3 separate regions of the Homo sapiens genome follow, and all the other regions are linked to region 2. Evidence: promoter capture Hi-C in 16 types of primary human blood cells and fetal thymus (Javierre and others, 2016). All regions are on one chromosome and are shown on one strand. Each heading gives the region's core, a stretch centred on a gene start or on the middle of the fragment in contact. The rest is flanking DNA. Distances are from core to core; before and after follow the strand shown.

What was found. The method cuts DNA at HindIII sites, captures the fragments that hold promoters and counts their contacts. A CHiCAGO score of 5 or more calls a contact.
Region 1: a contact is called between a fragment that was not itself captured here and the fragment with the promoter of HAL in region 2, in 1 of 17 cell types (monocytes). The highest score is 5.8, in monocytes.
Region 3: a contact is called between a fragment that was not itself captured here and the fragment with the promoter of HAL in region 2, in 1 of 17 cell types (endothelial precursors). The highest score is 5.4, in endothelial precursors.

What each region holds. Positions count from the first base shown.
Region 1 is chr12:96,255,919-96,260,521 of GRCh38, reverse strand. It overlaps ELK3 (ETS transcription factor ELK3), which reads right to left. Exons shown (of 5, transcript NM_005230.4): 4 at 669-791. Among named protein-coding and RNA genes, the nearest start is that of ELK3, 64 kb to the right of the region's middle. The HindIII fragment of the contact is 1,623 bases long and covers 637-2,259 here.
Region 2 is chr12:95,993,989-95,998,421 of GRCh38, reverse strand. It overlaps HAL (histidine ammonia-lyase), which reads left to right and starts at 2,078. Exons shown (of 21, transcript NM_002108.4): 1 at 2,078-2,344; 2 at 2,431-2,758; 3 at 3,429-3,489; 4 at 3,597-3,624; 5 at 4,258-4,332; 6 at 4,424-4,433. The coding sequence starts at 2,512. LOC102723340 (a long non-coding RNA gene) reads right to left here and starts at 1,940. Exons shown (of 4, transcript XR_945237.4): 1 at 1,792-1,940; 2 at 1-91. RefSeq lists enhancers at 177-471, 1,696-1,865. The HindIII fragment of the contact is 1,685 bases long and covers 1,947-3,631 here.
Region 3 is chr12:95,569,230-95,573,966 of GRCh38, reverse strand. No RefSeq gene overlaps it. Among named protein-coding and RNA genes, the nearest start is that of USP44, 20 kb to the right of the region's middle. The HindIII fragment of the contact is 646 bases long and covers 1,594-2,239 here.

The DNA of each region.
Region 1 (4,603 bases), core at 199-2,698, 260 kb before region 2:
TCTTCATTATTTTTTAACCAAATGCCCTGGATTCTCCTTTTTCATTACAGAACAAGGAGAACTTAATGATGATTCATAAAATGATGCAAGTAATTTTTCTATCCCAGGATGGGGAAATTGTTCACTATTTTTATTTTCACTTTATGTCAAACAAGTTGCTACATTAACTAGGAGGATTAATATTTTAAAGTCTTTTGTGGACTTTTATAAATAATAATATTTATTTTCATTTTATTTTAAATATAGATGGGGTCTTGCTGTGTTGCCCAGGCTGGTCTCAAACTCCTGGGCTCAAACAATCCTCCCACCCTCAACCTCCCAAAGTGCTGGGATTACAGGTGTGAGCCATCACACTGGCCTAAAGAATAATTCTTAAAGTTTTGCCTTTTCCTTAATAAATTTCCTGTTTTCATAGACAAATGAAAATATGCAAAACACTTTAAGAACTAATTGTTCCACGTATGGGTGTCTGGCATGAGTCTGCAATTTCTGCCTCAATGAAAATGTCTGCCTCTGAAGGGCGTGCAACCCCACTAACATGAACCCCCTCTGGACATTTAATATTTCAACTCAACATATGGCAAAACTCACCGTTACCTCTGCAGGATTTAGAGAAAAAACCATCCCTCAGAAGCTTAATGTTCAAAAGTTCATTTCCAAACGCTCACCTGGAACAGCGTGCTTGGCCCTTGCAGCCTGGCAGGACTCAGCGGAGCAACTGGACTAAGGCTGCTCCAGAAATGTATGCTGGAGAGCAGTGGACTCGGAGTCAGAAGCAATCCATTTGGTGTCTGGGAAGTAAAGCAAACAGACTTCTTCATATAGGTTCACCTGACTTGGGCCATGATCAACAGAGCAGCAGAGAGAGGTTAGGTAGGCTAGGCATGGGCCAGGAAACGACCTTACCATCTCAGGAAAACTGGCAACGTTAATTCTGAGGGGCTGTGAACAGTTTAATTTTAATTTTCTTTTCTTTTGGAGACAGTCTCGCTCTGTCACCCAGGCTGGAGTGCAATGGCGCGATCTTGGTTCACTATAACCTCCACTTCCTGGGTTTAAGCGATTCTCCTGCCTCAGCCTCCCAAGCAGCTGGGATTACAGGCACCCACCACCGACTAATTTTTGTATTTTTAGTAGAGAAGGGGTTTCATTACGTTGGCCAGGCTGGTCTCGAACTCCTGACCTCAAGTGATCTGCCCACCTCAGCCTCCCAAAGTGCTGGGATTACAGGCGTGAGCCACCATACCTGGCTGGCTAGTTTTCTTCAATGCTAATTTTATTAACACTTTTTTCATAAAGGAAAAAGGTATTGACACATTACCTTCCCTAAACATTCTGGTGGAAAATTCAAGTTTGTATCAACTTTCGTCCGAATGGTTTGTTAACTTGTTCCCCTTCCCAGATTAAACAAGGATTAGTATACAAACAAAATAGGATCCCATAAAGGGGCTTTAATTCTTCTTATCTATATTTTCCTGTGTTTCTACAGTGGACATCTATTACTTGGGTTACGAACACACGTTTTTAAATGGTCTCCATATCAACAGCTGTTAAGGCTTTGGGATTTGCTGTTAAAATACCCTGTAGCAGCCTCTTCAGAAGCTCTGAGCCGGGTTTTCCAGATTCCTTCCGGATGTGGAGTTGATGAGAATTCATTGCCCTGGCAATGGTTTGGGTGGGGGCAGGGAGGGCCCTTTCTTGTCAGATTGGGTATAAAGCCAAAACCCTGGGTTTCCCAGGGGAGTTCCAAGGACTGAATTTCTTGCACACACACAGCAGGAGTCCTGGCCTGCAAGCCAGCAGGAGGGCAGAAGAAACACCCGCCCAGCTGCTAAGTCTGCATGGCTTTTATTCTCAGTGGAGACAAACTCCCCGGCCCAGGGTGGTTTTGTACCTTTGGTGACTAGAAGGAGTCCCTCAGTGGTTTTGTGATGTCAATAAGGTGCTTTGTGTAAGAAGAACCACAGCAAAGGCGCCAGCCTTTCAGACTGCACCATGCTGGATGCTAAAGTGTTATTTTTTCCTAGAATTGGCCTCCGTAGCATCATTAATTACCAACAGCATTTGGCTTAAACCTAAATTGAAAGGTCTGCTCTGTTCAGCAGAATGGAGACAAACATCCAAAGTTCCTCAAACTGTGAAGCTGCTGAAATGTAAACACATTTATACCAAATTATTTGAGTCGTTGGTTCCATGGCATTTCCTACATACTGAATGACCTATGAGGTTACTAGAATAAATACATGTTTTGAATAAGCTTCCCATTTGTTCTAGTCCAAGGCAATTTCACAAGCATGCCAGGCCATCTGGCCTAACAGTTAAAACTTCACGGCTCAGCATGAGCTCTGCCAGGGTTCCAATCTCAGAACCACTACTTCCCAGCCAGGTAACCTCAGGCAAGCCACCTAACCTCTCTCTGTCTCAGTTGCCTCATCTGTAAAATGGGGAGAATAAAAATGCCCACGTTACAGGGTTGTTGGGAAGATTAAATAAGCTGATCTACTGCAAGCTCTTATAAGATATGTGCCTGGCATATAGAAATGCTCAACAAGTGCCAGAGGCAGTTATCTGGCTAGGTACTTCATACATGTTTTTGAATGAATAAATGGATTGGTAATTAATTGAAAGTATACATGACATACTTACTAAACGTACTTCATCTATGTGAGGGAGAAATTCTCAACTGTATACAGAGAAGGACTTAATCCTCTGAAACAGACCAACTCAACTGAGTCAGCCTGGACTTGGAGGCTACTGTCAGTTGTGTTAGGCTCAAGGCCACAAGCTCAGGTGTTCTGAAAACTAATATTTGCATGTTACTCTGGAGCAAGGTTCCAACCTCAATATGTCACATTAACATTTAATAACCAGTGTGTTCAAGGCCTCCTAGTTTATCCATCAATGAAGGCTCTCAAAGCTTTAAAGAGACAATCTTCTAAACCACAAAACACAGCTATCCTTCTCTCCTCCATGGCCATCATATGCCCATTCCTTTTTAATCCTCTAAGCAATGTACAAGGTCTAGAATTTCTATTTCTCTGGTCTAAAACGTATACCCATGTCTGGATTTGAGATGTTTGCACATTTGTTTCTTAGGAATACAGGATGTACTCAGACTACTGTAGCCTTCTTGTTTCTCATCTTTAATATGTCTGAAATGTCTTCTATAATATATGCAAATAAACACTGTAAAATGATTTCATTCCCTCCTCTCCCTTCTATCCCTGAAGTTCTCCCTGAAAATCCTGTGGCCTTAAAGAACCATGTGGTTGCTTTTTTAAGGAAAGTTCCTATAACACCTGCTCTGGGTTATCTCCGGGACAGTGTGAGACTTCACAGCCTCTCTCCACACGCTCCTGGAGTCAGGCAGAGTGGGCTGAGCCTGAGGGCCAAGGGCTAAAGAAGCCACAGCAAAAAGTGCTGTTTTCTTTCCTTCCCCAAAGACAGTCTCGTTTTAACAAGCATGGCAGATAAGGAGCTCCTGATCCCACGGCTGCTGGGAAAGGAGATGCCACAGGCAATGCATTTGCAAAGAGTAAGACCCTCATCCCAAGATCCCCTTTTCATTTTCCCCACTCAGTTCATCTTCCACTTCCACTTCATAGAGTCTCCTAAAAAGCCTGCACATCTGAGCTCGCCAGGGTGAGCTGGCATCCAGGCATGCCCACCTGTGCACCCCTGCCCCGGCCCGCTGCCTCCTCCTCTTGCCTTCCTCTGCCCATCAAAATGCCACCTCCTCCAAGGACACTTTCCTGATCTCCCCTCAACCAGATGGGATTTCTTATTTCTGAATCTTTGTAACACTTTGTGACCATTTTTTTCTTAACATTTAACATGTTCTGCCTCCTATTATGGTGATTGGCACATTTTTCTTATTCTTTCTGTAGCCTTTAAGGTATCTGCTCATCTTTATTCCTCCTGTACTTTCATCTCCTAAATACCAATGAACTGAAGCCATCTGCAGCTCTAGCTGGGTCCCCCCTGGCTTATCGCTTGTTGGGCATCTCCACTTGGATGCCCCACCATGCTCCAACTTCATGAAGCTCAGCACCTTTCCACATCAGTGTTTCTTAAGACTCTTCCCCTTCTGTCAACAGGACCACCGTGTAGGCACTGCCTCAATAAATACTGACCGAGAGTGCAAACTATGTTTCAGGTGCCACAGATGAGGATAAAACAAGACATAAACCCTGCATGCACAGCCCCATTTACCACCCGCATCCCAGGCCCCACCATGCAAAATGCCTTCCGATAACTGCAAGCTCCGGACATAGCCTCTGGAGGAGTCCCACAACTCAGTCTCCTGTTTATCCCTCATTTCCATTCCTGCTGCATCCAAGCCCCTATCACCTTACAGATGGCATTCCACAACAGCTGCCCAGGCCAGTCCACCTGCCTCCGGTCTCCCCATCTATTCTGTACCCCATCGCCAAATCAACCACCCTCAAACACTGAGTTCACTCAACATTCAGTCACCATTTCAGAAAGGATGTGATGTCCTCCTTAGCCCCAGATTTGAGGTTCCCCATAATCTGGGTTCACACACTTGCTAACTTCTGAGGACTAAGCTCTCATTTTTTATCTTGCCCAAATTCCTACCTAG
Region 2 (4,433 bases), core at 829-3,328:
GGGAGGTGGTATCACCTGGAAGCTCCTTCCCTCACTAGTCTGATGCCTGGGCTGAAATTACTCAGAAGCTGGTCTCGGCAGTGACAGTCAACTGGAGCATGCAGTAGTTTGGGTTGTTTTGCAGCATGAAGATAGTTAGACCTCTTATTAGTCATCTTTATACAGCTTTATCCATCACCAGACAGTAAGCCTCATGAATGTAGAGCGTGTTTGTTATTTATTTCATCCCCAGCACCTCGCATAGAGCTTGTTACATAACAGGTGTTGAAAAAATATTTGTTAAATGAGTCAAGGAATGAATGGGGGGGGGTGGGGCAGAAGGTTAAGGTGGTTCACATGTGCAGTCCTCAGTTTTCTCACAGATGTAGGAAGTAAGGTCTCCTTCTGAGAATTAGAGGTGGATGTCGAGAAGGTCCTGGCAGAGGGGTCAAAGTTTTGGAAAGTCACTGTGGGCTGGATGGAATAAAAGGGCAATACCATCAAACTATGTGATCACAGGACTTTCTCTATCAGTGTCTTCTGCCTGGGTGAACAGATATGACAGTTTCTTTTAATTTTAAACAGGGTCTTGCTCTCACCCAGGCTGGAGTACAGTGGTATAATCATAACTCATTGCAGCATTGACTGCCTAGGCTTAAGCAATCCTTCCAAGAGATGGCTGTTTTTTGTGATGACTAAGGGGATGGGTGTTATTCCAAGTGTAGACATAAGTTTAGGGATGCAAAGGAATCTCAGAGTGCTTAAGAAAGAGTGGTCCAGTGAGCGACTAGGGACCAGCTTCCTAGGATAGTAAGTGAGGATGCTGGTGGGAAGTGGAGGGATGAAGAGACTGACTGGAGGTCAGGTCCAAGGCTGGCAGTGACTAGAGTAAAAGGGCAGCTGGAAGGTTGTGGTCAGAAGGTGGAATATTGGAATTTCAGATTTCTTAAGTGTGTCAAATTCAGGTCGTGACAGATTCCAGGGTGATTTCTTAAGTGTGTCAAATTCAGGTCATGACAAATTCCAGGGTGCAGTCATGGTGTGGGTATCTGAAGAGCAAGTTTCAATAAGGCTCAAGGAAGGGTAGCTATTTGTACGCTTCCTGGGAAGCTGTCAGCAGATGAGAGGGACTCTGGGTATGAGTATAGGTGTTTTTCTTGAGCAACCATGTCTCTCTTCCCAACAGAAGTCTGATTTAGTGGAAACAGACTTTTCAGGATTTTTCTAGTGCAATAATCAAATCTCTAAAAATTGGCTTACGATGAAAGTGCTGCTTAGTCAAAATAGCATCTGCATATCTTTGATGCCGTAATCATGCTATCCAGAGTTCCTTAATACCAATGGTAATAAGGCGGGTGCAGGGAGCAGTTATCTGTGGTGAAGAAGCTTAATTGGGTGAGGGATATCCATGTGCCAAGATGAAAGAGCATTTATGGAACTTTATAGCTTTATGATTCATACAGAACATTTATAAAGCATTATAGTTACATGGAGTATTGGTGTCCAGATACTAGTAATCACAGACACTTCTATAATATTTCCACTATGCCAGGTGTTGTGTTGAGGGCTTTACATATATGAACTGACTTCATCCTCCCAATAGCCCTTTGACATATATACTATCATCATTACCATTATCTTCATTTTACAGATGAGGCAACTGAGGCCCAGAGAAGTCAAATCACTTGCCCACAAGTCATACACTTAGCAAATGGCAGAGCCAGGATTTGATCACAGGTAAATCCTGCACATACTGGAAGGAGGCAGTTAGCCCCTAGGCCTTCTGATAAGGAAATACAGGGTAATACTCACCTAATCAAGGCTAATAAGTAGTAGAGCTGGACTCTCATCCACGGCTGTCTGAGCCCCTAATCTCCAAGTCAGAGTGGTTCATTTGCCCAGATGACGACCTTTAGTTGTGAAAATGATCTCTGGCCTTTGCAGTCTTCCCTGGTGGAAAGAAAGCTTCAGAAAACCTTACTGGTGACAGGAAGTAGTTGCTCAATACATGTTTGTGGAATAAACAAATGAGTGACGATTGCCACACTCCCAGTGTCACAGTTGGCCCACAGAACACGTTTTACAGTTGAGTAATCTCAGATAAAGACAGGAACATGGTGTTTATAAGCTGCCCTTAATGGCAGAGAACACAGACAGAAACGAGGGAAGAGAGAGAAATTGGGGACCCTGAAGAAAGGGGGCCAGCAGCAGGTAGGTGCCATCAGGGACAAGAACAGCACCTCCCAGGGTGGGAGACCCCAGGCCTTTCTGGCAGCAGGTCTGGATGGAAAGTGGACAGGAGGCTCACCCGTCTGCATCCCCTGCTCCTGCCCCTGCTCGGCTACAAAAACCAAAGGGACAGCAGGTACCTCAATAAATATTTGTCCAATGCATGAATGAGTAAAGGTGAAGGAGGGGGAGTGGTTTGAAAGTCTATTCTCATCCTTCCAGCTGACCACACCCCGGTAGCCACTCCTGCATAAAGCTCTCCCCTCCTGTGACCAGCTGAGGACCTCAGGCTGCAGCGGAGCCATGCCCAGATACACGGTGCACGTACGTGGGGAATGGCTGGCAGTGCCCTGCCAGGACGCGCAGCTCACTGTGGGCTGGCTGGGCCGGGAGGCCGTGAGGCGCTATATCAAGAATAAGCCCGACAATGGTGGCTTCACCTCCGTGGATGACGCGCACTTCCTTGTGCGCCGGTGCAAGGGCCTGGGCCTGCTGGACAACGAGGACCGGCTCGAGGTGGCCCTAGAGAACAACGAGTTCGTGGAAGTGGGTGAGTGGCTGCAGGAGAGGGCCGCGAACGGGTGCGGTTTGGCCTGGCTTAGTCTTTGCAGCATTGAACCCCCACCTCAGGGAAAATGATGAGCAGAGGTCAGGCTTGCCGAGGCTGGCCCTGTGCAGGCACATGCCACGCCTCTGGGGATCTTAAGTCCTCACACAACCCTGTGAGATGGGTAGGATTCTCCTCCACCTCTGATGGAGGAGAAATCAGAGAGGAGGTAACTTACCCAGACTCCAGCAGCTAGTAAGTAACAAAGACTAGACTGGTACTCAAGGCTGCAGGTCTGAATCCCTTTGCAGTGACTGAATCATTTTGAGGTTATTTTGCCTTTCGAAAGAATCCACCCCCACCCCCAGACTGGAGGCCGGCAGCATAGCATCAGTTCAGATTTTGAAGAAAATAAAGCTGGGAATGGGGATGGAAGTGGAATTCTGTCTTGAACTTTCATCTAAACCCCTGGTCTCTGCCCTGACACCTACCTTTCTGCTTTTTGCTCTCCTCCTACATAAAGATGCTAAGACCACATGAAACCATCTGAAGCAGTTTTAAAGCAGCCATTTCTATAGAATTCATGGGCCAATGATGGGCCGTTCCTTGGTTTAACAGGGGGAACATGGCTGTACAATGTGATCTGTAACGAGTCTCCCGTGCATTGTTTTAGTTATAGAGGGTGATGCCATGTCTCCTGACTTCATTCCATCTCAACCAGAAGGAGTTTATCTGTATCCTTTCCCACAGGCTCTTTGGTCTGCTCTGGGGGTGGCTCCTGCAGATGGTGGGGCTGGGGGTTTTTCCACACCACCCTATATGTTCCTTTACCTGGATACAGATACAGCAAGTACCGGGAGCCTGAAAAGGTAAGCTTCAAACCACTTTCTTTTTCTTCAGAAAATTAAGGCCCCTTATTTAAGAGGGAGGAAAGCCAGGAAAACTTCTGAGAAAACACTGTCAATTAGAACAGGGCTGGCCGGGAGCAGTGACTCATGTCTGTAGTCCCAGCACTTTGGGTGGCCGAGGTGGGCAGTTCACTTGAGGTCATCAGTTTGAAACCAGCCTGGCCAACATGGTGAAACCCCATCTCTACTAAAAGTACAAAAATTAGCCAGGTATGGTGGCGTGCACCTGTAATACCAGCTACTCAGGAGCCTGAGGCACGAGAATTGCTTGAACCCAGGAGGCAGAGGTTGCAGTGAGCCATGTTTGTACCACTGCACTCCAGCCTGGGCTGGAGACTCTGCCTCAAAACAAACAAACCAACCAACCACAGGGCTTTATCCAGCTCTGTAGTGGGGAAAGGGGGCTTGGAAAGGCATTATGCTTTTGCACCAATAAGCCTCCTCTTATGCAAGATGCATTTTTATTTAGCATATTCATGTTTCACGCAATGATCAGATCTCTGAAATGTCAGTTTGGTTCTGTTGGAGGTGTCCCTACTCTGGTTAGAATAATCAAGCTGTTCAGACTCACTGAGATCCCCTTCTTTTGTGTAGTACATCGAGTTAGATGGAGACCGTCTGACCACGGAGGATCTGGTCAACTTGGGAAAGGGACGCTACAAAATAAAGGTATGGGGAGGGAGGGGAAAGATGTCCTCTGGCCATTTTTGTTGCCCGTGGAAGTCTTTAACGTGCTCAGTTCTGATCAACATTTTCCTAGCTCACCCCAA
Region 3 (4,737 bases), core at 667-3,166, 420 kb after region 2:
GAGCCTGATAGTTCAGAACAGTCTAAACTGAGTAGACAGGCAACGCTGAAGGGAAAGAGAATTCGGGGAACTGCGATGTATTTCTGTTCCTTTAGAAATGGAAGGTTTGGGCTTTAATGTGATCTCAAGCCATTTGGGGGAAGTTTGGAGTTTAGAATGATTTGAAGAATAAAGGCCTTGTTTTTGACTGACTGTTATTTCAGATCTTACCCATCTATCAATTAAATCTGACTTATTAACAGTATCTGGCAAAAATTCTGTCCGTTTGAGGATGGTGTGTGGTATTCTTGTACCTAACTATTCTCCTTAACCTTTTGGGAAAATGACCATATCCGTTTGTCTTAGCACTGGGCCCCCTCAGGACTTGCAAGGCTTTTTTTTTTTTTTTTTTTTTTTTTTTTTTTTTTTTTTTTTTTTTGAGCCAGAGTCTCGTCTCACTCTGTCACCCAGGCTTGAGTGCAATGAAGCAATCTTGGCTCACTGCAACTTCCGGGTTCAAGCGATTGTCCTGCTTCAGCCTCCTGAGTAGCTGGGATTACAGGCGCACACCACCATGCCAGGCTAATTTTTGTATTTTTAGTAGAGACGAGGTTTCACCATGTTGGCCAGGCTGGTCTTGAACTCCTGACCTCATGATCCCCCCGCCCTGGCCTCCCAAAGTGCTGGGATTACAGGTGTGAGCTTCTGCGCCCGGCCAAGGACTTGCAGGGCTTAAGGAGAGAATTGTGTTTTCTATTATGTCTTAAAAGCCAGCAAACTGTAAATCCTAGAGAGGAATCATTTTCAGGAAACTAGAGATGTAGTCCAGCCTTGGAGTAGCTTGCCATCCATACAGTCTTAAAGGTACTATCAATTTCTTTTTAAATCAAAGCATCAAACAGGCACCACTGTTTGTAAGGACTTGGGGAAAAATGAGCCCAATTGATACTTCTTTTCAAGCAAGTAACATCTAGCAAACTACACAAGCAAATAGGAACAAAATCAAGACAACATAAAACTGATTCCAGCTCCAAAACTAGTTCTGTGGCCTTCTGAAGTTTCTTACCTTTACCACAAATATTCCATGTGATCAGACACGCAGCATATTACAGTGAAAAGAGCAAGGACTTAAAGCCAAGGCATTCATCCCATGGGAATTTTTAGTTCTAATGCCACTGTAGCCACTTTCTAGCTGAGTGATTTTAAAGAGTTATCTAACCACAGATTCCTCATCTGTAAAATGGGGATAATAAAATCTAACTTGTAAGGATTAGGAACATTGTAGATGTCCAACAAATGGGGTGTGTGCATGTGTATATGCATAAATTACCTCAGCCTCCCTCTGAGATGAGAGAGTGAGATAAAACACAATGTACTAGCCCAGGCACAGTGGCTCATATATGTAATCACAGCACTTTGGGAGGTTGAGGCAGGAGGATCGCTTGAGCCCAGGAGCTGCAGACCAGCCTGAGCAACATGGAGAAACTCTGTTCCTACAAAAAATTCAAAAATTAGCTGGGCATGGTGATGGGCCACTGTGGTCCTAGCTACTCAGGAGGCTTTGTCTTTAGATTGCTTAATCTTCATTTGTTTTTATTATAACAAAAATAAGCTTTGTTTAGAAGTCCCTTGGACAGCCAGGTGCAGTGGCTCACACCTGTAATCCCAGCACTTTGGGAGGCTGGGGAGGGAGGATCGCTTGAGGCAGGAGTTCAAGATTAGCCAGGGCAACCTAACAAGACCCCATCTCTACAAAAATTTAAAAACAAAATAGCAGGGCATGGTGGGGCTCCCGTGTAATCCCAGACACTCAGGAGGCTGGGGTGGGAAGATCACTTGAGCCCAGGAGTGTGAGGCTACAGTGAGCTGTGATGGTACCACTGCACTGCAGCCTGGGTGACAGAGCAAAACCCTCTATCTGGAAAAACAAAAAGATTCTTGGTTGGTGATGTTTCCTCAGAAATCAAATCCACTTCTGACCCTAAGCTGCATAAGACATATGCAGGGGAGACAAGGAGAAAGTCGTTTGTTCAATGCAGACTTGGAGGGCAAACATAGGCCCAGAGGGTAAATATCACAATGAAGCAAATTTTGGTTTTCTCTAAAGGAGAAATTTCTAGTAACAGGAGGAGGTTACTAAGTCACCAAATCCTGGAGGAAACAGCTCTGCCTTGGTATCAGGAAGCTAAGTAACCCACTGTGGCTCAGTCATTTCACCCTCAACTTCAACTTTCCCAACTGCAAAATTCAGACTAAAGCTTTTATCTTTACTGTTTTGGGTGCCAGTGCTTACCAGGACACTTCCTGTATCACTGAGTCTACAGAAGAAATTGATATATGACCATCAATACATTTCACATCAAATAAAGATAGAGGAAATGATGATACAGTTCAGATCAGGAAGAGGAAGTAAAACCTTGTTTATAAACCAGTTGATCCCCACCTGCATCCTTATAATGAGTAGTGTAGAGAACACATACATCTCGGTCTCTTTTTTACATTTTTTTTTTAGAGATAGGGTCTCACTCTGCCACCCAGCTGGAGTGCAATGGTGCAATCTTAGCTCACTGCAGCCTTGATCTCCCAGGCTCAAGCGATCCTCCCATCTCAACCTCTCAAGTAGCTGGGACTACAGGCGTGCCACCATGTTCAGCTTTTTTTTTTTTTTTTTTTTTTTTTTTTTTTTTTTTTTTTTTTTTTTTTTTTTTTATGTTTAGTAGAGACGAGGTCTTGCTATGTTGCCCAGGCTGGTCTCAAACTTCTAAACTCAAGCAATCCTCTTGCCTGGGCCTCCAAAGTGCTGAGACTACAAGCATGAGCTACCATGCCCAGTGAGAGCATATACATTTCTCTTTCTCCCTGAGCCCTTTCTCATCTGTTATTCTGCTCATTCTCCAAGGTCATCAGTTAAGAAGTAAATTATGGTAGAAGAGATTCTATAAATTATGATAGAAGAACATCTCAATCAATTTGGACACCTTAACATGTAAGTCAGGCCGGGTGTGGTAGCTCATGCCTGTAATCCCAGCACTTTGGGAGGCCGAGGCGGGCGGATCATGAGGTCAGGGGTTCGAGACCAGCCTGACCAACATGGTGAAACCCCGTCTCTACTAAAAATACAAAAATTAGCTGGGCGTGGTGGTGGGCGCCTGTAATCCCAGCTACTCAGGAGGCTGAGGCAGGAGAATTGCTTGAACCCGGGAGGCAGAGATTGCAGTGAGCCGAGATCGCGCCACTGCACTCCAGCCTGGGCGACAGAGCGAGACTCGTCTCAAAAAACAAAACAAAACAAAACAAAACAAAACAAAAAACCCATTATTTTCACAAGTAGATACATTGGGGGGTGAGAAGTTGTAATAACTATTCCACAAAAAAGTCACTTTCATGCCATCTATAAGGTAAACTATAAAAGAACAATGGCTGGTCATGAGAAGACTTGCTTTCTAATTCCAGATCTGATGCTTGCTGTGTGGCTTCAGACAAGTCACTTAATACTATAATTTCCTCAGCTATATAATGCTAAGTATGAAGAAAGAGGATCTGTATGAAAATCCTTTGCGAGGTAGAAATTGCTCTGCAATGAAAAACATCATTACTAATGCATAATTCTTCTTTTCCTCATTCCATTTATATTGGAATAATGCCATTAATATATCTTTGGGATAACTCATATTTCTCTCTTCCCTCCATTGATTTATTCATGAAATGACTGAAGGCATTTTGGTAGATAAAGAAAAGACAAGTGACAATAACCTGTTACAGGATTAAAGCCAAATGGCTGTGTAAAAAAGGGTACATTAAATGATCAAATCAAAGACTATACATTTGCTATTTGTAAGACAAATACTGCATCTTTATGGGTTTTCAGATCCATCAGTTAAATAACAAAGTAGTGGTATAACATACTCAAGAGGTTTAATATAACATTAAATGAAGGCTGACAACCATGAAAACCATTTATCATTGTATTTAAACCACTAATTTCAGATTAAATTTAAAACACTTAATTCCTAATTGTTAGCACTGACATGCCAACAAAAATCTTAAGGAAATATTTTGTAGCTAGATCACACCATTGTTACACATTTGCTTGAGAAAACAAAGTATGTATGTAATTAAAGTATGTAACTAAATCCTACCTTATCATTATGGTGCCTTCAATAAGATCCACTCTGCCAAAAATTGAACAATTTATAATACATAGTTTAATTGGAAATTTTTATTGTCATCTGTCAAATTCTGAGACTATACTTTTTGATGTAGTGTATGTGGTTAGAGCATTCTCTGAATAAATCCAAGGTTGCATGGCCATTCTTACAGGAGCCACTTAACTTGAAAAGGGAGAAAAAAAAATCAGTGGCATATCACAACTTGCTATCTAGCCACCTTCTCTGATTTTGGTGAAAGTGATTCAAAGGTGACCAGGTAATTGTAAATGGACAGCCTGGGTAGAAAAATTACTTGAAATGACATCTTTCCAAATGTACAGTACTTCCCAAAACTACAGATAAATGGAATAAAACAAAGTCTAGTTAATCTAAATATAAACAACATAGTATGCTGTGATCCAGTTAGAAAAAACTTTTTCTTCTTTTCCGTTGCAAAATCTAACATTTCCCAGAGCAGATCCTGTTCTGGTGTGTGAATTTGAACCCGTTGATTAAATTTTGAGCATGTTTCCTCAACTGTAAAATGGGGATAATAATACCGATCTCCTCAGGGTTGCTGTGGAAATTACAGTAAGCAGTGAAGGAAAGA